Linked DNA regions of Homo sapiens: region 2 is linked to region 1. The links are contacts of gene promoters, found by promoter capture Hi-C in human tissues and cell types (Jung and others, 2019). All regions are on one chromosome and are shown on one strand. Each heading gives the region's core, a stretch centred on a gene start or on the middle of the fragment in contact. The rest is flanking DNA. Distances are from core to core; before and after follow the strand shown.

Region 1 (6,906 bases), core at 3,665-6,164:
CTCTACAAAAAATTTAAAAATTAGCCAGGTGTGGTGGTGTGCACCTGTAGTCCCAGCTATTCAGGAGGCTAAGGTGGGAGAATCCCTTGAGCCCAGGAGTTTGAGGTTGCAGTGAGCTATGATTGCACCGCTGCACTCCAGCCTGGGCAACAGAGAGAGAACCTGTCTCTAAAAAGTGTTTTTTTTTAAATTTTTTTTAATTAAATGAACTAAAAGAAAAAATTCCTGGTCCAGCCACATCCCCTGGTTTGGGTTCCAGCAAAGACTACTAGAGTGGCGACCCCCTGCTGCTGAGGCCCACTGGGGAAGGGAGCTAGGGGCAGGGCATCTGGGGTGGGAAGTGTGGCAGGAGCAAGGGCACAGAGCAGAGAAGAGTGTGCGGGATGGGATGGGAGTGAAGGAACCGGGCGGGCGCAGGGGAGGCTGCAAAGCCAAGTGGACTGGCCCTGGAGGGTCTCATGGGCCTGGCTGGAGCATCTGGACTTTGTTCAGAGAGCAGTAGGGAGCAATCAAAGGTTTCTGAGCTGAAGAATGACCAAGCTGTGCTGATTTTAACTGTTGGCACCATGGAGGACAAATGAGAAAAGGCACCTGGTTTGATGGCAGGAGGCTTTGACCAGGTAGGGGCTGTGGAGACCTGACCTCGGCAATTGGATGTCAAGGGAGATGGACATGGGAAGTGTCATGGGGTATGAGGATGGACTTAATAAGTGGGGGTGGCACTGCTTGCTGGGGTCTCAGAGTCAGCCTCTCAGAGTCAGCCATACCAGATGTGCTCCTCCTACAGTGCTCCCGACCTCAGAAATGTCCCATCCTCACCTGGCCCTTCACACCACCAAAACCTGGTGCCATCCTGGGCTCCCTCTCCCTCACATTGTTGCCATCCCCAAGTCACTTTGATTTTGGCTCCCAAATTTCTCTGAAGTGTGCCCCTCCCCTCCTCCAGTGCATCCTCTGTCCAAGGCCGGGCCCTGCCTCTCCAGGCCTGGACTAAGGCCATGGCCTCTATCCGGCCTCAGGTCTCCAGCCTGGTACTGCTGGTCCATCCCCTGCAGAACAACCAAAGGGATCATTCTAGAATCTGCGTCCAGCTCACCCCCTCCTCATCCTCGTGGCTTCCTGATTCGTGGGGTGGATGTCCACTCCCCCAACAACTCACCCCTCCTAAACACCATCAACCTCTCACTGAGCTACTTGCCCCTGCTTCACACATAACGTTGACTGTGCATCCGCTTTGCACTGGCCCCATGATTGTGTCAAACGCTGGGAACTGGGAGAGGACTGAGACTGAGAATCAGTTACAAGGGTGTAGGATCAGGCAAGGCCCCTCTGCGGACCAGCACGCTGAGCTGAGTTCTGGAGGATGAGCAGGACAAAGGGAAGAGTATTGCAGGAAGAAGCAACAGCCAGAGCGAAAGGCCCACGGCAGCAGGCAGCTGGACCCAGTGGAGGGAGCCCTGACCACCTCAGCATGTCGGCTCCTGGCATCCCTGCCCCCATTGTGTCTCATTGTCCCAGGATGGTGGCTTCGGAGGGGCAGGGTCTGAGCCTGGGCAGAGAGCAGGGCTGGCTCCCAGGCGCCTGTGGAATACACTGAGGTGTGGGGGACCCTATTTTTTGAAAAAACAGTTTTATTGGTCAGGCATGGTGCCTTACATCTGTAATCACAGCACTGTGGGAGGCCAAGGTGGGAGGCTTCCTTGAGCTCAGGAGTTTGAGACAGGCTTGGGCAACATAGTGAGAACTCTTCTCTACTAAAAATTTAAAAAATTAGCCAGGTGTAATGATGCATGCCTGTAGTCTCAGCTACTCACAAGGCTGAGGCGGGAGGATCACTTAAGCCCAAGAGTTCGAGGCTGCAGTGAGCTGTGATCGCAACGCTGCACTGTAGCCTGAGGGACAGAACAAGACTGTCTCTAAATAAATAAATAATAAACGGTTTTATTAAGATAAAAGTCACATACCATGTAATTCATCCTTTTAAGGCACATAATTCAGTGGTTTTTAATAATCACCAATATCTAATTCCAAAACATTTTAATAATCTCCAAAAGAAACTCCATATCCATTAGAAATCACTCTCCAATATCCCCTCTTCTCCAGCCCCTGGCAACCGCTAATCTACTTTCTGTCTGTATGGATTTGCCAGTTTTGGACATTTTAAATGAATGGACTCCAGACAATATGTGTCTGGCTTCTTTCACTTAGTATAGCGTGTTTTAAGATTCATCATGTAGTAGCATGAATGGGTACTTCACTCCTTTTTATGGCTGAATAATATTCCCCTGTATGGATATGCCACATCTTATTTATCCATTCATCCGTGAGTGGACATATGGGTTGTTTCTACTTTCTGGAGATCATGAATAATGATGCTGGGGCCAGGCATGGTGGTTCATGCCTGTAATATCAGCACTTTGGGAGGCCAAGGCAGGTGCATCACCTAAGGTCAGGAGTTCGAGACCAGCCTGACCAACATGGTGAAACCTCATCTCTACTAAAAATACAAAAATTAGCTGGGTGTGGTGGCACATGCCTGTAATCCCAGCTACTAGGGAGGCTGAGGCAGGAGAATCACTTGAACCTGGGAGGCAGAGGTTGCAGTGAGCCGAGATTGCGCCATTACACTCCAGCCTGGGCAACAAGACTGAAACTTCATCACAGTAAAGGAAAAAACAAAAACAAAAAAACTGCTGGAAACATTTGTGTTCAGGTTTTCATGTGGACATATACTTTCCCTTCTTTTCGGTGTGTATACCTAGGAGTGAAGCTGCTAGGTCATAGAATAACTCATTTTTTAATGTTTTGCTAAATGGCTAGATGGTTTTCACAGTGGCTGCACCATTTTATATCCCCACCAGCAAAGCACACGTATTCCAATTTCTGCAAATATTCACCAACACGTGTTATTGCTTGTCTTTTTGATATCCCAGTGGGTATTAAATGGCATCTCATTGTGATTTTGACTAGTGACTAATGATGTCAAGCGTTTTTTTTTTTTTGAGACAGGGCTTCACTCTGTCACCCAGGAAGTGATGTGATCTCGGCTCACTGCAACCTCCACCTCCTGGGTTCAAGTGATTCTCCTGCCTCAGCCTCCCAAGTAGCTGGGATTACAGGCGCCCACCACCACACCCAACTAATTTTTGTATTTTTAGTGGAGACAGGGTTTCACCATGTTGGCTAGGCTGATCTCAAACTCCTGACCTCAGGTGATCCGCCCACCTTGGCCTCCCAAAGTGCTGGGATTACAGGCGTGAACCACTGCACCTGGCCATTTGAATATCTTCTTTGGAGAAATTCTATTCCAATCTTTTGCACATTTAAAAATTGGTCTATTTGGGCTGGGCGTGGTGGCTCACCCCTGTAATCCCAGCACTTTGGGAGGCCGAGGCAGGTGGATCACAAGGTCAGGAGTTCGAGTGAAACCCTGTCTCTACTAAAGATACAAAAAATTAGCCAGGTGTGGTGGCACGCGCCTGTAATCCCAGCTACTCAGGAGGCTGAGGCAGAAAATTGCTTGAAGCCGGGAGGCAGAGGTTGCAGTGAGCCAAGACTGTGCCACTGTACTCCAGCCTGGGCAACAGGGCGAGACTCAGTCTCAGAAAAAAAAAAAAAAAAAAAAAAAATTGGTCTACTTGTCCTTTGATTGTACATTGTAAGAATTCTTGGTGCTTCTGGATACAAGTCCCTTGCTGGGGGAAGGAGCTGGGATACCAGGCCAAGGAGCCAGGCCCTGGGGCTGCCTGGGCTCTGCTCTCCCAGTCCTCTGGCTGTGGGCTCAGGGGTCTCATGGAGGGGGTCCAGTGTCCCCTGGGAGGGAGGATATCTGCCCCATGAGTCACCTCCCACCTCCAGTTCCCCCACTCCCTCTGCCTCTATTGGGCTTCAGACACCGCAGCGTGAACACTTCACAGGGCCTATGGTGTCCCCTGACCCCCGACCAAGGCTCAGGTCTGGCAGCTGGTTTTGATAACCGGGGAAAGCAGAAATGCTAGATCCTTTCATAGGTGACTACAGAGAAGCTGCCACCTGCTTCACAACCGCCAGTGTGACAGATCAGCCACCTCTGCGGCCTGGAGGTCCAGCCCAAGGCTTATGGGGCAGGCTGCGGGAGGGAAGCCTGCCAGGGCAGCCACCGCCCCCTTACACCAGGCCCTCCCTTGCCCTGCTTATTTAAACTTCTTGAACTTTCCATAGTTTGTAAGTTGAGCTCCTATAACTTTGAGAATCAAGGGAAATGTGAAAAAACAAAACCCAACTGCAGCCGCTGGCTGATTCGGCTCAGACATTTGGGGGAATCTTTCTCTGGGGCTGCCCAAAGCCAGTGGCTGGGCTGCAAACACAGGAGCGGTGCTGGCTGTATCTGTCACATGGGGTCTCACCTCCTCCTATAAGCCTGAGGCCTCATGTCATTGGCGGGTCACTGTCGTTCACAGGCACCCCTTCTGCGTGCGGGGGCCCTGGGCCATTGCAAAGGCAGCACGATGCAGCCCCTGTCCCAGGGCATGAGGTACAAAGTGGTAAAGGGACTTGTGACGGTTAAGGGAGGTGAACCCAGGTGCAGCTCTGGGGCCCAAGTGTGGCTTCCAGAAGCTGGGGAGGGATCTCCAGGTGAGAGAGTTCTCAATTTCCCTTCAAGGAAGGTTAGGACTTCAACACAGCGGTAAGGATCTTGCAGACAAAAAGAACGACCAAGTGCGCAAAGGCTTGGCACATGGGGAGCCCTGCCACGGGAGCCCATAGCCAGGGGGCCCGCGCTAGTGGAGGGCCGTTATCTAGGAATGAAGAGGAGCAGAGCGGGAGAAGCCAGCTGGGCTGACTGTCCCTGGGCCCCAAGTGCTGGACTGAGAACCATGTTTACCTCCTAGCTACACCTCCTCAATGATGCTACTAAGTACTAAAGAGCACTCAGCCCCTTCCTAGACTTTGCCCCGCCCCTGGGTCCCCATCACCTCCCCTCAAGACCTGCTGGTCCCATCTTCCAGGAGACATTCTGTGTTGAGACAGCATTTTTTGACTTTGCCTCTGCAGGATTGGGCCTCCGGCAGGCTCCTCGCTCCTGCGGCGCCCCAGCTGGGCCTGCCACCCGCCACCTGCCACCCGCCCACGTGGAGCCCCCTCTGCCCCTGCTGGCGCTGCCTCGGCTTTGGCAGGCTGTGGGCCCTGAGGCCTCTCTGCTCACTGATTATGCAGCAGCCGGTGGGCTCGGGAGCCAGAGCGAGAGATTTATTGTGGTTTTTAGGGGGCGTTTAGGAGCCGACGTGATAATGTCTGTGAACGCACTTTGTAAACTGTAACGGGGGAGTGCTGTGCACACGTGAGGGCCTGGGGCTGGGGCTGCGGACGGGAGCCCAGCCCCCAGATGACATCCTGGGGCTCAGTCGGCAAGCCCCTTCAGTCCCAGTGGGTGGCACGAGGGTGGGAATCCCAGGCTGCATCTGCTGGAGCAGGGCCTCCCTGGGCCTGTGGGGGCTGGGACGTCTGTGTCACCAGGCAGCTCTGGAATGAGCTGTGAGCCAGAAAATTGCCCAGGTCCCTCCCTCGCCCGAGAAACCCCGTTGCACTGCCGTGAAAGTGACATGCTTCCTGGCTGTAGAGGGGACCAACTCCAGGCCTCCTCACCCCTGCTGTGGGGAGACGGAGAGAAGGGGACCACAGCTGGACGGGGCTGTCTTCCAGGAAGGGGAGCTACGCACAGGCAGGGGCTCCGCCATCCCAGCCTTCTAGCTAACTGTTACTATCTGAGAATCCTTATTCAGTGGCATATATTTGTTGAGCACCTACTATGCGCTTTGCACTCTTCTAGATGCTAGCGGTCTAGCAGGGATCAAGACAGACGAAAATCCCCACACTCATGGACCCTGGGTGAGGGAGGGCAAAGACAGACAACTCACAGGTGAAGAAGGATGACTATAGATAATGGTCGTTACCATAGAAACAGGAAAACTGGGAATGACTGAAGCTAGGGGGTCAGGAAAGGCCTCTCTGAGGGACCCTCATCCCTCTCTCCAGGTGGTACCCGTCCATGGCTTCTGGAACAATCTGGGCCCCGAGAGGCTCAGCTGGTCCCCCAGCCACCTGCCTAGGCAGCCCTGGGGCTCTCAGACTGCACGAGGGGCTGCTCTGGGTCCGGTGCCCCATCTGGCCACTGTTGGGGCTGTAGTCAGGGTCCCCAACTGAGCTGTCTTCATTTCACTGGAAAGCTGGTGAGGGGCAACGGGAGGGTGAGGCTCAGGTGTAGCTGGAGAGCAGCTGCGGTAGGCGCTGTGCCCCCACTTCACAGCTGAGGAGACTGAGGCCTGCCTAGAGGTGCCAGCTGGTAGAGGTAGAATTTGAACGTAGGTCTGTCTGATTATTTTCTGAATGAAAAATCAGGTCCACGGTCTCCTGGGGACAGCAGGAGCATCTCCTCGAGCTTGGGACTGGTTGCCTTTATAATCTCGAGAGTAATGAGAAGCAAACTAGTGCTGTTTGAGTGTTACTGGTGCCAGGTGCTGTTCTAAGTACAGAACCTGAGTTATCTAATTTAAGCCCCAGCACAACCTGATAAGGTGAGAACTGTCATTAATAGCCCCACTTTACAGACAGAGCAACTGAGGCCAGTAAGGTTAGGTAACTTGCCCAAGGCCACACAGAGCAGAGCTGGATGTGAACCCTCCAGGGTCCATGTGTTTAGCTGCTCCTTTTTCCTGTTTCCACCTTCAAGGTCACAGGTCTTAGGCCTTGGGATTGTCAGATTGTGCTGAGGTCCCAACCATGCATGGTCCTGTCACCCTCATTACAGTCTCTTGAGTCTGTTGGTTTTATAATCCCCTCTACTGTTTTTACAGATGAGGAAACTGAGGCCTCGAGCAGGTGAGTCACAGCTAGGTGATCGGGAAGTCAGGATGTGAACCCAGACCA
Region 2 (7,511 bases), core at 3,195-5,694, 350 kb after region 1:
CTTCTTGGCAGGTTACCCCTCTGGAGAGAACCAATGTAATTACCTCATAAGCTGGCACTTTTTTTTTTTTTTTGAGATGGAGTTTCACTCTTGTTGCCCAGGCTGGAGTGCAATGGCGTGATCTCTGTTCACTGTAACCTCTGCCTCCTTGGGTTCAAGCGATTCTCCTGCCTCAGTCTCCCAAGCAGCTGGGATTACAGGCATGTGCCACCATGCCTGGCTATAGTTTCTTTTTTTTCTTTTCTTAAATTTTATTCTGTGAGATGAGGTCCCACTATTTTGCTCAGCGTGGTCTTGAACTCCTGGCCTCAAGTGATCCTCCCACCTTAGCCTCTCGAATAGGTGGGACTACAGATGTGCACCACTATCTCTGGTTCTTTAAAGTAGTTTCTATCCAGGAAGCTAGGGTACTAATAGGATCTTCTTTGGTGAGAAGAAAACAGAGAAAGAGTCCTTTTCTTTCTAGAGGGACAGCTGGAGTACAGGAGTTTATGCACAGTACCTAAGTTCAAATCCAAATCCAAGCTCTCCCACATGCGCTTTAAGCAAATGACTTCTTTTTGTTTTCCCACCTGTGAAATGAGGGAAAACAGTACTGATCTTCACTGTAGATAGACTGAGTTTTTTTACTTTGTTTTGTTTTGAGACAGAGCCTCACCCTGTTACCCAGGCTGGAGTGTAGTGTCATGATCTCAGCTCACTACAACCTCCCCTCTGCCTCCCAGGCTCAAGCAATTCTCGTGCCTCAGCCTCCTGAGTCGCTGGGATTACAGACGTGCACCACCATGCCTGGCTAATTTTTGTATTTTTAGTAGGGACAGGGGTTTCACCATGTTGGCCAGGCTGGTCTTGAACTCCTGATCTCATGTAATCCACTGGCCTTGGCCTCCCAAAGTGCTGGGATTACAGGCGTGAGCCACCACGCCTGGCTGGTAAAGTGGTTTTAACTACAGTATAAAGCTCTTAGAACTAAGAACAGTACTTGAAATAGTGTTCGATAAATGCTATTAAGTATTCAGGAGCACAAAATGGATCCCATAAAGGTAATTCAAAGGACCACAAAAATCAGTGTTTCTGTGTTTTGTTTTTTAAAACATGCTTCCTTCCCTTTCTCCAACACACAAGCAGTGAAGTAGAGAGACACCCATAGCCCGAGTGAGAAGACACCCAAACACCAAATTAGAAATGACTTCACAATCAGCCCCGGAGTCAAAGCCGATTCTCGGACCAGTCCCATCCCACAGCAGCCTGCCTCCTCTTTCGACATCACAGAGGCTGCTGTGTCCTTCGCCAAGGACTCCCTGGCAGGTGGAGTGGCCGCAGCCATCTCCAAGATGGCGGTAGCACCCATCGAGCGGGTCAAGCTGCTGCTACAGGTGCAGCATGCCAGCAAGCAGATCACTGCAGATAAGCAATACAAGGGCATTAGAGACTGCATGGTCTGTATTCCCAAGGAGCACGGAGTCCTGTCCTGGTGCGGTAACCTGGCCAGTGTCATCAGATACTTCCCCCACCCAGGCTCTTAACTTCACCTTCAAAGATAAATACAAGCAGATCTTCCTGGATGGTGTGGACAAGAGATCCCAGTTTTGGCGCTACTTTGCAGGGAATCTGGCATCAGGCGGTGCCACTGGGGCCACATCCTTGTGTTTTGTGTACCCTCTTGATTTTGCCCATACTCGTGTAGCAGCTGATGTGGGCAAAGCTGGAGCTGAAAGGGAATTGCGAGGTTTCGGTGACTGCCTAGTTAAGATCTACAAATCTGACGGGATTAAGAGCCTGTACCAAGGCTTTAACGTGTCTGTGCAGGGTATTATCTACCGAGCTGCCTGCTGCCTACTTCGGTAACTATGACACTGCAAAGGGAATGCTTCCGGATCCCAAGAACACTCACATTGTCATCAGTTGGATGATGCACAGACTGTCACTGCCGTTGCTGGGTTGACTTCCTATTCATTTAACACCATTTGCTGCTACATGATGATGCAGTCAGGATGCAAAGGAACTGACATCATGTACACAGGCACATTTGACTGCTGGAGGAAGATTACTCATGATGAAGGAAGCAAAGCTGTTTTCAAGGGTGCATGGTCCAGTGTTCTCAGAGGCATGGGTGGTGCTTTTGTGCTTGTCTTGTATGATGAAACCAAGAAGTACATGTAAGTTATTTCCTAAGATTTTTCCCCCTTTGAACAGGCATGTTGTATTATATGACATATCTTGAGCATTCTTTTTTTTTGAGACGGAGTCTCCCTCTATTGCCCAGGGTGGAGTGCAGTGGCACAATCTCGGCTCACTGCAACCTCCACCTTTTGGTGGAGCAATTCTCCTGCCTCAACCTTTTGGTTCACCTTTTGGGTGATTCACCTTTTGGGTTCAAGCAATTCTCCTGCCTCAACCTCCTGAGTAGCTGGGACTACAGACATCCGCCACCACTCCCGGCTGTTTTTTTTTTTTTTGTATTTTTAGTAGAGATGGGGTTTCAACATATTGGCCAGGCTGCTCCTGAACTCCCGATCTTGTGATCCACCCACCTGGGCCTCCCAAAGTGCTGGGATTACAGGCGTGGGCCACCGCGCCCGGCTATCTTGAGCATTCTTGACAGACTCCTCGCTGTCAATTTATCAGTGGCAACTATTCACTGGTTGGAAATGGGAAGCAATAATAGTCATCTGACCAGTTTTCTCTTAAAGCCATTTCTATGATGATGATGATGATGGGACTCAATTATGTTTTTTATTTCAGTCACTCCTAATAAATAACAAATTTGGAGAAATAAAAATATCTTAAGAAAAGAAAAAAGAAAAGAAAAGAAAGGCTTCACACCATGGAATGACAAGTGCTCAAATGGCTCTCAGTAAGTGCTCACGGGGACACCACTGTCAGAGTGGTGAGCAATCATCTACCACAAAATGGAACAAAGCAGCAGAGGTACGTAGGAAGCAGGTGAGAACATACAACCTCTAAGGCCCATATAAATCTGTCAAGAAAACTTTCTGGAGGAAGGAAAGATAGAAGAAAGACCTGGATATCAGCATTTGGTAACGTCTACTTCGATCTTCCTGACAACTACATTCAAACTGACCTGAGTGTGCTGGCCCCAAGCACATCATCCAGCTTGAGTTTCAATGCTGGTTGGGAGAAAAGGAAATTGAGGGCAAGTCAGAGCCCAGAAAGGAGCGCAATTTAGAACTGCACAGCGGGGGAGACTGAGTTTGAGTGTAGGAAACGGGAAAGGGGGCGTGTGGGGTAAAGAGGTGAGCGCAGTGGAGTCAGGCCTTAGTGAACAAGTGTGCTTGAAGGTGGAGATGGGCACCCCTCTGGCTGAGTCTGCTCCAGTAGAGAGCTCAGGGGCCAGCAGCAGGCACCGCAAGGAGCAAAGCAACTGGTGTAAGCCCCACAGCTTCCTGCGACCAACAGTGCTTTGTTGTGCCCAGGCATCTGTTCAGTCCCATCTTTTATTTTAAGACAGGATCTGGCTCTGTTACCCAGGCTGGAGTGCAGTGGTACAATCTGAGCTCACTGCAGCCCAAACTCCTGGGTTCAAGCAATCCTCTTACCATCGCCTCCCAAGCAGCTGGGATTATGGGTGCACACCACCATGGCCCACTAATTTTCTACTTTTTGTAGAGATGGGGTCTCACTATGTTGCCCAGTCTTGTCTCAAACTCCTGGGCCACCTCAGCTTCCCAAACTGTTGGGATAAGAGGCATGAGCCACTGCACCTGGCCTCAATTTTTTCAATTTTGTTTTTAAAAGCAGACATCTCCCTGGTTGGAGCAAGGAGGAAACATGGCTTTAGAAAGTTTCCAGGTCCAAGGAGAAGCCCCACAACAGTTTGAGATCTTTCCAGAATGATCCACACTCGACCTCCTCATCCCTCTTACCAAAGAGCGACACCTTGTTCGTGGAAGTAGGAGGAGATACACACCCAGTACCTGTCCTCATCCAACAAAGTCGCAGGCACCCAAGGGCAGCCACGCTGCCACCGAAGGCCCCCGGCTGCTCACAACCGCCGGTCAGCTCCGGCCTCTCTTCGAAGGACACACGCGTCTCGCACCCCCTCCCCGCCCCGCCCTGAGGAGACATGCGTCTGGGCCCCGCGCCTTGAAAAGGCGCATTCCCACCCCCACCCCTCAAACGCGCGAGGCCACGCGTTCCGGCCTCCGCCACCTCCACATGCCGGAACACCAGTGAGGGGCGCGCGCTCCCAAAGGTCGGGGGCGGAGCTAAGAGCGCCGCGCCCAAAAAAGGCGGCAAAGTCCCTGACTCGCTGAGAGTTTGCGAGCCGCCATGTCTATCTCATTCGTCTCCTCTCCTCCGACAGCACGCCGTGCTTCCCCTCAGGCACCTTTCACCGTTAGGGATGAGGGCTCCGCGGCGGTTCTCGGTGTGGCTCTGATTCACCGCCATCTTGCTTCGGGCCTCCTGCCGCCCCGTAGATGGAAAGGGGCGGGACCTGCGCCGAGCTGTGGGGCGCGGTTCTGAAGGGGAGGGCGGAGATTATGACGTAAGGAGGAGGAGGAGGAGGAGCGAGACCGGGTCACGTGGTGGGGCAGTGCCCGGGGAGCGGGGCGGAGTCAGGGTAGAGGCCCCCGCCGAGAAAGGGGAGAAAGAGGCGGGCCCTGAGAATTGGCTCGAGCGCGAAGGGGTGAGTGATAGGTGAGTGGCCTCCCGACCTCACCTGCCCCCTTAGCCCCCTGCCTTTAGGTATGGACTTGGGTTGGTCCTGTCAGGAATGATCTCAGCTCACTGCACCTCCAACCTCCCATGCTCAAGCCATCTTCCCACCTCAACCTCCCATCCATTACTCACTTTGGTTATGAAACACTAGAAAATAATGACTGAGGCCCGACCTGACGCCAACTGAAGATGAACTGACCTCACAAAGTGTTTTCATCTCTAATATCTGTGGCTATTTCTTACCAAGAGAGTCTCACCCTCCACACATGGGTGAGATGACATAATGGCTGATTTGGTCAAGGAGCACAAATAAGACAGGCCAGGCAGTTACTGTTCAAACAGCAATGTTTAGTTGTACAACACATAAAGTCTAGCAACAATTACAGGACCAGTTTGAGTGTCTGTTTGCTTGTTTTCAATTGGGAAATTTAACTGTAATGTCACCGTAAGATTGGCTGGGACTGGTAACATTTAAGAAACGGGTTGTTCTTGCATCCCCTAGGCGTGGGCCTCTTGCTCCATCAGGACTTGGTTGTAGATGAATGGCCCACAAGTCACCAGCCTTTGAGCAAGTTGTGTCCAGGTGGAGACAGGAAGAGGGTGGGCAAAGGGGAATTCTATAAAGACACAGTGTGTGGGGCAGTGGCAGTCAACATTCGCAAACATTCATGCATCTGATGGGGGGCTTTGCCCTCCCTTGGGTATTTTCCATTAGCCTACAGTGACCACCTGTGGTCAGGCTAATTCATTACTCACATTAATGGGGAAGGGGGTTGGGGGTAGGAGTAGGTAGGGTAGGTGGGAAGAGATCCCTCTTATTGCTGAGTGGACAGAAGGGTGCTAGTTTTTCCTTAGCGTGTACATATTGTGGGTTTCTGGGGGTTTGTGTGTGTGTTTAGTTTTTGTTTGTTTGTTTGGACAGAAGAAAGTCAACTCCAGCAATGTCTTCTTAGGAAAACCACTCTTCCTCAGTGGCTGCGTTATGAGGTGGGGAGGATGTACAACCGCACTCTGGGACAGCCACAAGTGGTGATTTTTTAAAAAGTGATCCTAGCCCTTGCTCCCCAACATCTGTAGTGACCCACCCTCATGAATATCTTTAAGTAATGAAGGAGACACCCTTGTCCCACTTTGGGGCTCACACAGCTGATCTCAATGAATCTAGTAAGCAGAAAAATTGCTTTCTTGACCCTTTAAGGAAGCCAAGAGTAGCTCATGCAGATGAATGGGTAGGGAGCAATGCCATTGCCCTTAGAGATGGTTACAAGTAGCTGGGATGGGCTTACAAGGGCAGAAGGAGCTCTTGATGAGTTCTTTCACCCTGCAGATGGGCTAGGACCGGCTGACGCAGATGATGCAGTAGGGCTGTACTGGCAGAACCCCACTCCACTGGGAGGAGAGGAGTGGTTTGGATAAATGGAGGATGCAACTGGCCTAAAGAGGCAGCTGGCCCCTCCCACCTACTGAGGGCTGAGAGGGGCTGTGGTGGTGAGCTGGACGAGCACAGCACTAAAAAGGGCTTGGCCCTGCAGCAATAACAGCTGAGAGGAATGGAGTGAGAAGCAGCGCTTGAAATGGCCTTCATTCAGCAGTGGGGCAGGGGGTGGCTGGCACAGGTGGAAGGACAGTGCCCAGGAGGCCTTCTCCCTGCAGGGGGGTTGAGAACGGTTGAGGGTGTGGAGACCAGCAGCTGGCAGCAGACATATAAAATACCTTCTCCAGGGAGGCTCAGATCATGGTTCAGGGGTGCCAGGCACCATTCCTACTCAGCCTTTCCAACGCCCACCTCCCATGCCCATAGATCTTCCCCTGCTGGTCCAAGGTCTCCATACAGGACTGCTTCTACAGTAGCCAAGGATCCCTGTTCTGTTGAAATGTATAACCTCTGGGCTGTAGCGCTGCTGCTGTTCTGTCCTGACAGGTGCCTACCCTGTAACTTTGTGAGCAAGGGAGGATGAGGGCTGGGTTGGCAGCCTCCAGGAAAGACCGAGAGCATAGGTTGGGGTCACTGGTGACCTGATCACCGCCCCCCTTTCTCCTGGTCCATTGAATCTTGGGTCTTGAGTCTATGTTTTTTTTCCTAGCACCTGAGTGATAAAAGACTGGGATTATAAGTGCTGGGATTCATAGAGGACCAGTGAAACACCTAGGCTGAACCAGGAGATGGGACAGAAGGTTGTATGAGGTTATTGTAAACAGTTTCACTTAGTGTTTTCCCTTCCCTAAGGCTAAACTGTTTCCCTGGCCCCGAATTTCATGAATCTTACAGATTAAAGGAAAAGAGTAACTTACTTGTACAACAAGCAGGGGAAATATATGCATTAATAAATACAGGGCTTCAGGGAAAGGCAAGAAAAGCCTAAATGTATGACGGTGGGTATCATTGGGAATGTCTACAGGAGTCAGGAGGAGAGGGAATTAGGGAAAAGTAGAGAAAGACAGACATAAATATGATTAGCTTCAGCACAAAAGTGATGGGGAATAGAAAAGAGAGGTCAAGTATGTATGAAGCAAATGGAGCAACAGAGAAGCCTGCTTAGAAGGGAGAGAAGTCTGACGGAGAAAACGGAGGTGTGGTCAAAAATTTGTCTTTGAAGCCAAATTACTAAGAAAGACAAATTATGTATATTGTTTCTGATACTTCTTTAGAATTAGTTCTAGAACCTGATGTCCCAATAAAAGGTTGTCTCACATGACTAGCATGTGTGCTTCCTTTAACTGGACACTGGGAACTGCATAACTCACTGTGTTTCCCTCTTTACATTGGCTGCCTGTGAGCTCAGGGCCTGTTCAGGTGCTTGACTACAGAAACTTTCTTTCCTATTCCT

The links. Contacts are between HindIII fragments. The study calls those that stand out against the background at their distance.
Region 2: a contact is called between the fragment with the promoter of WBP2NL here and a fragment that was not itself captured in region 1, in 1 of the 25 tissues and cell types used here (spleen).

What each region holds. Positions count from the first base shown.
Region 1 is chr22:42,345,954-42,352,859 of GRCh38, reverse strand. No RefSeq gene overlaps it. Among named protein-coding and RNA genes, the nearest start is that of LINC01315, 20 kb to the left of the region's middle. RefSeq lists an enhancer at 763-1,263. The HindIII fragment of the contact is 5,764 bases long and covers 2,033-6,906 here.
Region 2 is chr22:41,995,721-42,003,231 of GRCh38, reverse strand. WBP2NL (WBP2 N-terminal like) reads right to left here and starts at 4,444. Exons shown (of 6, transcript NM_152613.3): 1 at 4,352-4,444. The coding sequence starts at 4,413. SEPTIN3 (septin 3) reads right to left here. Exons shown (of 12, transcript NM_001363845.2): 12 at 5,011-6,330. The coding sequence ends at 6,265. It also overlaps the pseudogene SLC25A5P1. RefSeq lists enhancers at 1,329-2,528, 3,863-4,377, 4,378-4,894 and a silencer at 4,492-4,551. The HindIII fragment of the contact is 18,305 bases long and covers 1-7,511 here.